2 separate regions of the Homo sapiens genome follow, and region 2 is linked to region 1. Evidence: promoter capture Hi-C in human tissues and cell types (Jung and others, 2019). All regions are on one chromosome and are shown on one strand. The core of a region is centred on a gene start or on the middle of the fragment in contact, and the rest is flanking DNA. Distances in the headings are between cores, read along the strand shown.

The links. Contacts are between HindIII fragments. The study calls those that stand out against the background at their distance.
Region 2: a fragment that was not itself captured here is called in contact with the fragment with the promoter of XPOT in region 1 in 1 of the 25 tissues and cell types used here (dorsolateral prefrontal cortex).

What each region holds. Positions count from the first base shown.
Region 1 is chr12:64,401,133-64,406,934 of GRCh38, forward strand. XPOT (exportin for tRNA) reads left to right here and starts at 3,260. Exons shown (of 25, transcript NM_007235.6): 1 at 3,260-3,672. RefSeq lists enhancers at 2,835-2,884, 3,982-4,858 and silencers at 3,275-3,434, 3,765-3,874. The HindIII fragment of the contact is 11,570 bases long and covers 1-5,259 here.
Region 2 is chr12:63,721,090-63,726,891 of GRCh38, forward strand. It overlaps the pseudogene LOC100418730. Among named protein-coding and RNA genes, the nearest start is that of DPY19L2, 55 kb to the left of the region's middle. The HindIII fragment of the contact is 3,249 bases long and covers 742-3,990 here.

The sequences.
Region 1 (5,802 bases), core at 2,010-4,509:
ATTTTTAGTAGAGACGTGATTTTACTGTGTTGGCCAGGCTGGTCTCGATCTCTTGACCTTGTGATCCATCTGCCTCAGCCTCCCAAAGTGCCGGGATTACAGGCATGAGCCACCGCGCCTAGCCTCTTTATTTGTTCTGAAATAATATGAGTTTACAAAGTTGAAAGAGATTTCTACAATTCTAGGTATTTCAACTACCATAAACGAAAGAGCTAATGTTAGTAGATAAACTGTAGATAAACTGAAGATAGGCTTTGTATAACATTCAACATAAGAAGTAGCCATAAAATGAATTTACAAACAAAACAGCAAGTAAAGACATCTATAATACGATAGATTGAATTGCCATATTCTTTAGGATGAGGCCTGGAATATGCTGAACATACAGATTGCAGAGGCACTCAGCCCAAGATTAGTATTGGGCCTTCATACTCCACAGTTGATCATCACAGCTAATATAAGAATTCATGCAATGATTCAGTTATTGAGTTGAAACTAGCAGGCTGGCACTGTGCTAGACTCGAAAGATATACTGAAATAGGTAGGGCAGAAATCCTAGCCTGAGATTTTTTTTCTTAGAAATAACATTCATAGCAACTTGTGAAAAAAGCCATGCCTGTGTCTCCAGCAGCAGTGAAACAAGATGGTGGATCCCCTCACCATTAACCCCCATATGGAAAGGGTATATGTAATTCAGAAGGGATGTGTATTATGTCTGTTCTCACACTGCTATAAAGGAATGCCTGGGACTGGGTAATTTATAAAGGAAAGAGATTTAATTGACTCACAGTACCTCAGGGCTGAGGAGGCCTCAGGAAACTTACAATCATGGCAGAAGGGGAAGCAAACACATCATTCTTCACATGGTGGCAGGGGAGAGAAGAATGAGTGCCCAGCAAAGGGGGAAGCCCCTTATAAAACCATCAGATCTCATGAAAACTCACTATTACGAGAACAGGGTGGGGGAAACCAACCCCATGATTCAATTATCTCCACCTGATCCCGCCCATGACATGAGGGGATTATGGGAATTACAATTCAAGATGAGATTTGGGTGGAGACACAGCCAAACCACGTCAGGATGTGTAGACAACTGAAGTACAATAACATCAAGGCTGTTTTGACGTAAGGGCAGAATTTACAGTATGTGCTCTCACACAACTTGAAATCTTAAAGGCCTTCCGGGAACAGGGTTAATCAGAAACCAACATGGCAGATTAGTACCAAAGATGGAGTTACTTTAGCTTCCAGATTCCACCCATCAATCCAGCTCTTACAGTTTCACTCGCCCTCCTATTTGGAGATGGTCCCTGAGCTTTTAGGGAGGGTGGTTTCATATGATATAGCTTTAGCAGCAGCGCCCTAGCAGTGGAAAACAGATTGGGCCCAGAGAGATTCCAAATGAGGGAGATTCACAGGCTTTGTTGAATTATCTCTAGTCTTGAGAATACCATGACTTTGGTTTTCTCAGAAGTAAAACAAGAGATACTTCTTGTTTATAATTAATTTGAATAATTAATAATTTGAATAGTAGAAACATAATGCATGCAAGGATTACAATCAAAAGAAAATTTGTATGCCAGAACAACAAAGAACCTATTTCGTTGGGAAGCCAACTGAGAGCAGCGTGAAGAAAATTAAGGCCTGACACAGGGACTCACACTCGTAATTCCAACACTTTGGGAAGCTGAGGTGGGAGGTTCATTTGAGCCTGGGAGTTAGAGATCAGCCTGGGCAACAGAGCAAGTCCCCATCTCTACAAAAACAAACAAAAATAGCCAGGTATGATGGTATGCACCCGTAGTCCCAGCTCCTTGGGCGGCTGAGGCAGGAGGATTGCTTGAGCCCAGGAGGTCAAGGCTGCAGTGAGCTATGACCACTCTACTCCAGACTGGGTAACAGAGCGAGACCCTTTCTCTAAAAACAAGAAAAAATTAAAACCCAGTTCTCCTTTAGCGACATCTTGTAGCCACTAGCCTGACATTTTAAACACATAAATTAGAAACATGATGCAAGAGTGATTCAAGGTATTTTATATAGGAAATGCCTGGTGTAGTGTCTTGGACAGCTAAATAAAGGTAGCTGTTAAAACATTAGTTTTATTCTATGCTCTTACCATTCCTCCCTCTCCAAGTTTTGTTTGTAGTCTGTGGCAGCAACCTAGTCTGTATTTAGTACACATTGAATAATCAACAATGAAATGTAAATATTGAGCACATTGTGTGTCAAACACATGTATTAACTCAAACCTCACAGAAACCCTTTGAGGTCGGTACTATTAACAATCCCCATTTTACATACGAGTAAACTGAAGCATGGATAGACTAAAGTAAAGTGCCTGAGGTCAACTAGTGAGGAGGCGGAGTGGCAGTCAAGTCGAGGCAGCCTAAGCCTACACTGCCTCTATGTTGCATTAATAAATTAATAAATCTGTGACCAAATAAATGAAGTGACATTTAGTAGCATCGAAAGATCCCGTGAGTAGGACTTCCTAAGAATGCTCTCCTTCTTTTCATGGACAAAATTTTAGTCTGTTTAAAATAAATTTTGGACCGGACACCGTGGCTCACGCCTGTAATCCCAGTACTTTGGGAGGCCGAGGCAGGTGATCACTTGAGGTCAGGAGTTCGAGATCAGCCTGTCCAACATGGTGCAACCCTGTCTCTACGAAAAATACAAAAATTAGCTGGGTATGGTGGCGCGCGCCTGTCATCCCAGCTACTCAGGAGGCTGATGCAGGAGAACTGCTTGAACCCCGGAGGCGGAGGTTGCAGTGAGCCAAGATCTCGCCATTGCACCCCATCCTGGGCGACAGAGCGAGACTCCGTCTCAAAGAATAAATAAATAAATTAATTAATTAATTTTGAAAACCTGTCAGCACTCATCAGAGCTTTACACTGCTGTACTCGGGACACTTGGGGCCGTAGACAAGCAATTAAATTGACTCACACGTGGTTAGAACCACGTCATCCTGATTCGTGAATCCGTACTCTCAACTACTAGAAGCCCTTTGTGGAATGCTCGGGGCGAACCTGACGCTTGAGCTCTGACACCACGCAGACACAGCCGGGGATTTAGGAGCTGGGTAGGGACTCCTGGGCCGGATGCCTCATCCCGGCATGCACCTCAAGCCCCGGTGACCACGCCTTCCGGCGAGCGCCAGGGAGCGCGTGTGCGCCTCGCCGCCCGGAAGCGCCGGCCGCTCCCTGCATGCTGGGAGTTGTAGGCCTCCGGCGTCAGCCCGCGGGCTGCCGCCCGCACTCTCCAAGAGACTGCTGGCGCCGGCGCCCGCCCGCGCGGCACCGACGCGGGGAGCGCGCTTCGCGCTGACTCAGCGGCGGCGGCGGCTGCGGCGGCGGCGGCGGCGTTAGCCGGCCCTCGCGCTCTTTCCCTTCCTGGGGCGCCGACCCCGCCCGCTTGCTTGCTTGCTTGCTTGCCTGCCTGCCTGCCTGCCCGGCGCCACGCAAGAGAAGGTGCCAGGGGACGCAGAGCGACTAGAGGCGCGCGGTCCCGGCCAGCACCGTCTCTGGCGTTGTAGCTGCGGCCGTGGCGGAGGACTACGGCGACAAGGACGAGGGCCGCTCTCCCAGCTCTCTGCGTGCCGCGCCGCTCCGCTCCGCTGGCTGACCATCTGGAGTGCAGGCTGGGAGGCGGGATGGAGTGATAGGGAAGGTGACTCGGGGCTCGGGGGCAGCGGGACCGGGACCAGGTTTGGTCCGCGTGAGGCTTCGAGGAAGTTGGCCGGGGCGGACCGGCCCGGGGGAGTCCCGACGCCAGGGAGGGTGCAGGCTTGGGACCCTCTATGGCGGTGCACCCCCTGGCTGGGCGGACCGGGTGGGGGTGGGTACGAGCCGGGGCCGCCGCCGAGGAGCGCGTCCCGAGTGCGTGGCCGGCGGTTGCTTGGTGTTTCATCACCCGAATTGCCACGAGGCTTCCTTTAGGGGAGGGATCGGGGGAGGGATGGGAGCAAGGCTAGCAGAGGAGGGTCGGCATCGCCTGTGGTTCCGAAGCCCGTTAGTCATCGTTGTAGCGTTATCAACTGTGGAGACCTCAAACTTGATTCTTCCCCCACCCCTGGACAAAAAGGAAAAGTGTTATTTCTGTGCAGTAATTGGCCAGCACGGACGCTCCATTTCTTCTCAAACCTTCCTCACCATCCTGCAGGACTAGAGAAGCATGAGGTTTCCCTGTAACCAGAAAAACGAGTACTTTTTGAAAGTGCTAATTAGTTGTGGCGGGCGGGGGTTGGGGGAGAGTTACGTTTTATTAAACCGACTTGTCAGCGTGGTGTTAAAAGGCTGGAAAGATTCAGTCGTAGTATTTGAAACAGTCTTCAGTAGGTGTAGAGGAATTTTTCCAAATTGTTTGATTCTTAATGGCTATCCAGGAAAAGTTAAGGCTTAATATTTTAAGTATGTTGCTTGCCTTCCCCCAAGAACCTTTGCAAGATGCATAATTGTTTACCGTATTGAAACATTTTTTGGGGTTTTGTTGTTGTTGTTTTGAGACGGAGTCTCGCTCGGTCGCCCAGGCTGCAGTGCAGTGGTGCCATCTCGGCTCACTGCAACCTCTGCCTCCCAGGTTCAAGTGATTCTGCAGCCTCAGCCTCCCGAGTAGCTCTATTACAGGTGCGCCCCGCCACACCTGGCTACTTTTTGTATTTTTCGTAGAGATGGAGTTTCACCGTGTTAGCCAGGATGGTCTCGATCTCTTGACCTCGCGATCCGCCCGCCTCAGCCTCCCAAAGTGCTGGGATTACAGGCGTGAGCCACCGCGCCCGGCCTTCCACTGCATATTGATCGTCCAAATGCCTTCTATGTGGGGGATTCTTTCTGTAGTGACAACTGTTAACTAGTTTGTTTCCTTGGGTTTATTGGCTATGTTTTCCTTAGGGCCACTTCATTTTTCTCCCGATAGCTTCAGAGTGACTTGACCAAGCTTAAGCACTTTTTCTTTTTTTTGACACAGTGTCTCACTCTGTCGCCCAGGCGGGAGTGCAATGACACGATCTCCGCTCACTGCAACCTCCCCCTCCCGGGTTCATGCGAGTCTTCTGCCTCAGCCTCCTGGGTAGCTGGGATTACAGGCGCAGGCCACCATGCCCAGCTAATTTTTGTATTTTTAGTAGAGACGGCGTTTCACCGTGTTGGTCAGGCTGGTCTCGAACTCCTGACCTCGTGATCCGCCCACCTCGGCCTCCCAAAATGCTGGGATTACAGGCGTGAGCCACCGTGCCCAGCCAGCAATTTTTTTTAGATGGAGTTTCGCTCTCGTTGACCAGGCTGGAGTGCGGTGGCGCCATCTCAGCTCACTGCAACCTCCGCCTCCCGGGTTCAAGCGATTCTCCTGCCTCAGCCTCCCGAATAGCTGGGATTGCAGGCATGTGCCACCACACCCGGCTAATTTTTGTATTTTTAGTAGAGACGGGGTTTCTCCATGTTGGTCAGGCTGGTCTCGAACTCCCGACCTCAGTTGATCTGCGCCCCCCTCCCCTCGGCCTTCCTTAGTGCTGGGATTATAGGCGTGAGCCACCCTGCCTGGCCAGCATTTTTTTAAAAAGCCATAGCAAATTCAAGGAAGCTTTTATTGGACTTCTCAATCAGGGATTCTTAGAAACTCCGAAATCGTTTTTTCTCTCTGTGGGCATTTTTCAGGGGAATGGACATCAGATTTTCTTAACATTTAGGGGGCGAAGGGAACCAGTGCCTTTCTTTGTGTTTTTCTGTCTTTTAAAAATGCTGATCTGGTATAAGAATGCCCCAAGTCGTTTCCATTCCACATGTTCCTACCTCTGACTATAAA
Region 2 (5,802 bases), core at 1,116-3,615, 680 kb before region 1:
TACAAAATGGGACTCGTGGGGCCTTCTTCAAGGCATACAGTGTCAGAATTAAATGAGGTGTTTAGAAAAAAATGTGGAAAGATTTTTCTAAATTAAAAGTAATAAATCCAAACCATGAATTTTAGCTGGATCCTAGTTCAGAGGGGGTTTAGGGGCAGTTGGTCTATCCTGAAAATTTTAATATAAACTGAATATTAGGTGATATAAAGAACAAATTCTTATAAATTTTCTTAGCTGTGATAAAGATGTTGGGATTATAAAAATAATGTTCTAATTGTCAGAATAGGCTTACAGAGTGTTTAGAAGTCTCAGGAAGCATGCAACTTAGTTTCAAAAGGGGAGGGAAGAAAATGGGAAGGAAGAGGGGAAGTATGTTTGCATATAGAGAGGAAGAGGAAGGAAAGAGAAAATTTGGGGGAAAAGCAAATTTGGCATTGCTGAATCTGGGTGGAAGGCATGTGAGGTTCATTTTACTATTTGTTTCATTTTTTGTATATCTGAAATTTGTTCTAAATAAAAAATCGAGTAGAAAAACAAGAATTAAATTAGAAAATGTCATTAAAGATGTGGTTCCAGTTGGATACAGCGAGTACTAGCAGATATTCTGACCTCCTGTTTAGGATGATCATCATCGTGTTACACTTGCTGATGTGTGGTGTGAGCAGCACATTTGTTTAAAAAAAAATGAGCATAAAGAGTTGATGCTCTCTAAAATTGATGTCTCAGAGTCTATCAGGGCCAAGAGCTGAGAGAGGGTGAAGTTCTGCTTCTTTGGGAACAGCAGGCACTCACAGCTTAGGGGTTAAGGGCACTCCCTCTTGAATCTTAACCACCTGAATTCAAATCTGCAATGGGAGGAGCAAGGTCACTTCAGATGACTTATTTAACTAGTGCCTCAATTACCCCAACTGTACGATGCTGAATAAAAATACAATTGTTCCTATCTCACGATATCATTGAGAAGATCAAGTGTGATTATGAATTCAAGTGGTGTCTTGCACATAGTAAGTACCCAAATGTTAGCTGTTATTCGTATTATGTAAATAAGACCGTCCTATGATATGAGAGGTCCCGCCAACACTTACGCAGTCTTGCTCTCTCACCTATTAAACCAAATCTCAGGCATTATACTTTAAAGTTTACTAGAAACTTTAATTTTTGTTCATCTCTATAATTTTCACTAAAAAAAATAAAGAGGAAAACAATTTACCTCCTCCTGCTTTGGCCCTCTTTAAAAAGAATTATGATAAAAGCAATGAGGTTTCCACATGACAAGTGTCTATGTTATTTCCAAACATCAATAAGGTTTCTTAAGTGAGCATAAATTTAAATTGTTAGAATATATTAGCATGGTGTATATTATAAAAGCTATGAAATCAATTAGTATAAATGAATGGAATGTTTTTGGAATCTTTTTGGAGCCTATGATATTTGCATCCCACGTGCCCTCAAATAAATTAAAAACAGGATTGCTGGTTTCAGTGTTCCAGATTTGCAAAGAAACAGCATTAGCGCTTCAGGCCTTTGTAGGCTTCCATCTAAACCCCAACTTTTAGTTTGGGCATTCTCTGAATGTTTCCACTCCTGTGTTATGATCTTGGAGATAATTCAAAGGTTACAATACTTGCCTTTACTATAAGATCATCAGCATGATAGCAATTATGCATTAATTTCTCTATCTCATTAACTAATACACCACTAAAATTTTAAAATACAAATGGTGACAAATTCTTTTTTTGACATTTCTGAGATAGCCCCATCATAACCACGTCTTATTTACAGAGCACCTTACAGCTTCCAAAGGCTTAAACAAGCCTACACACACAACTACATTTGATCTTCACAGCAATCCCCTAAAATGGTCTGGTCAGTTCTTGGCCCTAATAGCTAGGTAAGGAAAACAGCAGCCACTGGTGAAATGAAATCTACTCAAAGTTGTATAGAAATCCTAGGAGAGTAAGCCTTACATACATCCACTCTGGCCATCTGCCCACATCCCTTTTCCAGGCTTCTACTACCTCATTTCTGTGAGGCTGGCTGTGATGTCAGCTTCATCTTGCCTGTCCCGAGGGTCTCCACACCACCTCGCTTCCAGGTGACCATCCTCCTCTGGACTCTGAGCCATCTACCAGGCAGCATCTAATAGCTACTCACTCAGAACCCAAAACCTAACAACATCAAGACAAGAGGAGAGCAGTAGTCTTGGCTACCTATGACCAATGAAACAAACACAAGATACAAAGACACAGAGAGGTCATAAACAACTGAATGTGTCAAGTAAACGGAGCATGTGACTTCCTTTTATATTGAAGTGTATGAAAAGGAATTCTATTTCTGGTCCTTTCTGATGGAGAGAAGTTACTCACCCTCTCTTAGCTTCAGCTTCCTCACCTATGGAGCGTAGTACTGCCACAGCCCCTTAAGCTTACGCTGGGCACAAAAGAAGAAAATGTATGGGAAATGTCTATCAGTACATAGCCCTTAGTATGGCCTTGATAAATATTTACTAAGTTGGAATAAGCCCTATGGATGAAGAAATGCATTAAGTTTATTTTTTTTAATTTTATTTTTTTGAGGTGGGGTCTCGCTTTGTCGCCCAGGCTGGAATGCAGTGGTGAGATCTCTGCTCACTGCAACCCCTGCCTCCCAGGTTCAAGCGATTCTCCTGCCTCAGCCTCCCGAGTAGCTGGGACTACAGGCATGTGCCACCAGGCCCAGCTAACTTTTGTATTTTTAGTAGAGACAGGGTTTCACCATGTTGGCCAGGCTGGTCTCGAACTCCTGACCTCAGGTGATCCACCCACCCTGGCCTCCCAAAGTGCTGGGATTACAGGCATGAGCCACTGCACCTGGCCAAAAATTTATTAATTTTAAATGTGATGTACAACAGAGAGTAAAAAATGTAGGTTGAGTATCCCTTATCTGAAATGCTTGGAACCAAAAGTATTTTGGATCTCAGATTTTCTCAGATTTGGGAATGTGCATTATACTTACAGGTTAAGCATCCTTAATCCACAAATCTAAAATCTGAAATGCTCCAGTGAGCATTTCCTTTGAGTGTCATGTCAATGCTCAAAAAGTTTCAGATTTTGGAGCATTCAGATTTTGGGTTTTTCGATTAGGGATACTCACCCTGCATATAACTCAATAATATAAATTAGATATCTTGATGTTACATACTATAGTTTACTATCTAAAAAGACATTTAAAATCATTTTACCAGAATTATCTCACCCTAAATTATAGCTGAATAAAACCTCACAAAATATCTAAAGTATCAGCAGTTTGGGCAGTTGGATAGAATAGGTGTGTTTAATTCAGCAGAAAAACTGAACTTTTAAATTTTATGAAGCAACAAGAACATGGTTATACATGTTACCAGGAGGAGGAAAAGGAGGCAAGTAACCTTCTGGAGAAGAAAATGTGAGAAGGCAGATTGGGGTAGGTGTGGGTGGGGAAGTGGGCAGTTAAAAACTTGACCCATAATGTAGAGATTCTAGAAAATACAGTGTAATACACAGTCACTCAACACACTCTTAGAGGTCCTAGCACTGAAACTCAATAGCTCTCTGCAAAGTGAACATCCATTTTGAGTACTGGGATATCACTTCTCTCCAAGAAAATATAAGAACCTCCTAAATCCTTCTCTTATGCAGGAACTAAATTGTGAACTGTACACTCATCAGTTAATTCTGGTAGGCAGTGACTGCCGTAAAAACTGTTTCTGGAAGGATGAAAGTTCTAAATTCTTCAGACTTCAGGTTGAGCAATGAGGCTGTGTGGTCTTTCTTCTTAATGATGTGCACCCTTGGCTGGTACTTATGCATTGAGTTCAAAATGATCTACAACAAAAAGATGGAAAGTACTGAATTTTACATACTTATACTGCTCAACAGGCCAAATTACAATGAGGCAAGAAAGAACCAAATGGTCTACAATTTCAAAGTCAATTTTAAGATATGGATCTACCCTTTCCAGCCTTAAGGCAAATCATTTTCACAAGATACTGCAGAGTCATTGTTGTGAATCACATTTTACCGAAACAACTGCAAACCACACAGGTTGTTTCAAGTGTCCTTTCTAAAATGGTAGGGGGAGAGGTCATCTGAAGGATAAGTTTTACCGATTTTTAAAAATCAAGTATTTTAAATACTTTTGTTTTGCTAGTCTAGTTAGACCAAAGGACGCATGTCTAAATTTTCTAAAATAAGAAATCACATATTCTAAGAGGCCAGATTATTATTTATGGAGAAAAAAATAAAAGAGTTTAGAAAAGCAGTGGGGTGTTAGACAGACTTGGGTAAAAATTTTGAATCTGTGAGTTTCTAGTCCTTTAATCCTTAGCCAAGTGATCTCATCTCCCCAATTCCTAGTTTATGCAAATGAATATGCAAAGCAAAAACAGAATGGCATTTATGGTACTAAATCATGTATAGCTTGGTCATAATGATAAAACTGAAATGATTATTAAAAATTTCTTTTTTTTTTTTTTTTTTTTTGAGATAGTGTCTCACTCTGTCACCCAGGCCGGAGTGCAGTAGTGCAATCACGGCTCACTGCGATCTTGACCGCCCAGGCTCAAGCGATTCTCCCATCTCAGCTTCCTGAGTAGCTGGGACTACAGACATGGATCACCACACCTGGCTAATTTTTTTTTTGTTTTGTTTTGTTTTTGTTTTTTTCGGAGAGATGGGGTCTTACCATGTTGCCAGGCTGGTTTCGAACTCCTAGACTCCAGCGATGCGACCGCTGGGCCTCCCAAAGTGCTGGGATTACAGGTATGGAGCCACTGCACCCAGGCAAGAATTTTAATAATAACCTTTAGGTTAAAGTAAGCCTCAGGTTAATCTCAAGGAAATCAAATTTCCTGGGAAATCAAAAAAAAAAATCTATTTAGATTTTTCTGTCTAACTGGTACTTTCCATGAAGATAGTACTTGCCAAATAAAATATGGTAGCAATAAAGCTGTGGATAAAACTTAAGCTATAGAATGGCTCACCTTTAAAATGTCCCAGGTTACTAAAAACAATTTATAAAGAAAATGGTACTGAGAACGTCAGCAGGGCCTTTAAAAAGTGCAAAACATGTTCTCAGAGATGAACTGTAAGACAGAAAGGCAAGAAAATATTGAGAAGTAAAGCTAAGCTATAAATCAAGGGGATGAGGTTTAAAAGAATCCACAGTATAATCAGAAATACATCATCTCTTAAATTAAAAAATAATAATAACAGTAATAAGCTGGGTGCAGGGGCTCATGCCTGTAATTCCAGCACTTTGGGAGGGCCGAGGCAGGCCGATCTCTTGAGGCCAGGAGTTTGAGATCAGGCTGGACACATGGTGAAACCCCATCTCTACTAAAAATACAAAAATTAGCCAGGCATGGTGGTGCACACCTGTAATCCCAGCTACTACTCGGGAGACTGAGGCATAAGAATCGTTTTAACTGAGAGGCGGAGGTTGCAGTGAGCTGAGATTGCGCCACTACACTCCAGCCTGGGCAACAGAACGAGACACAGTCTCATTAAAAAAAAAAAAGAAAAGTAATAATAGTATAAGCTTCAGTTTCCAAAATTTGCATTCAGCTCTCCCATGTTGACCCTTCTTTTTTAACTGTCCCTACCACCTACCTCCAGGACTGTATTTATTTAGCAGTAGAGGGAATGAAATATAATAGGAGTAGAAGAAATATTTTTCCACTGCCGTGGGACAACTGTCTACTCCTTCCTGATGTAAAATTATCAAAACTAGAATAATTAGCACTGCCTCAGAGACTAGACACCATATTTATTAGATGGTCAAAAT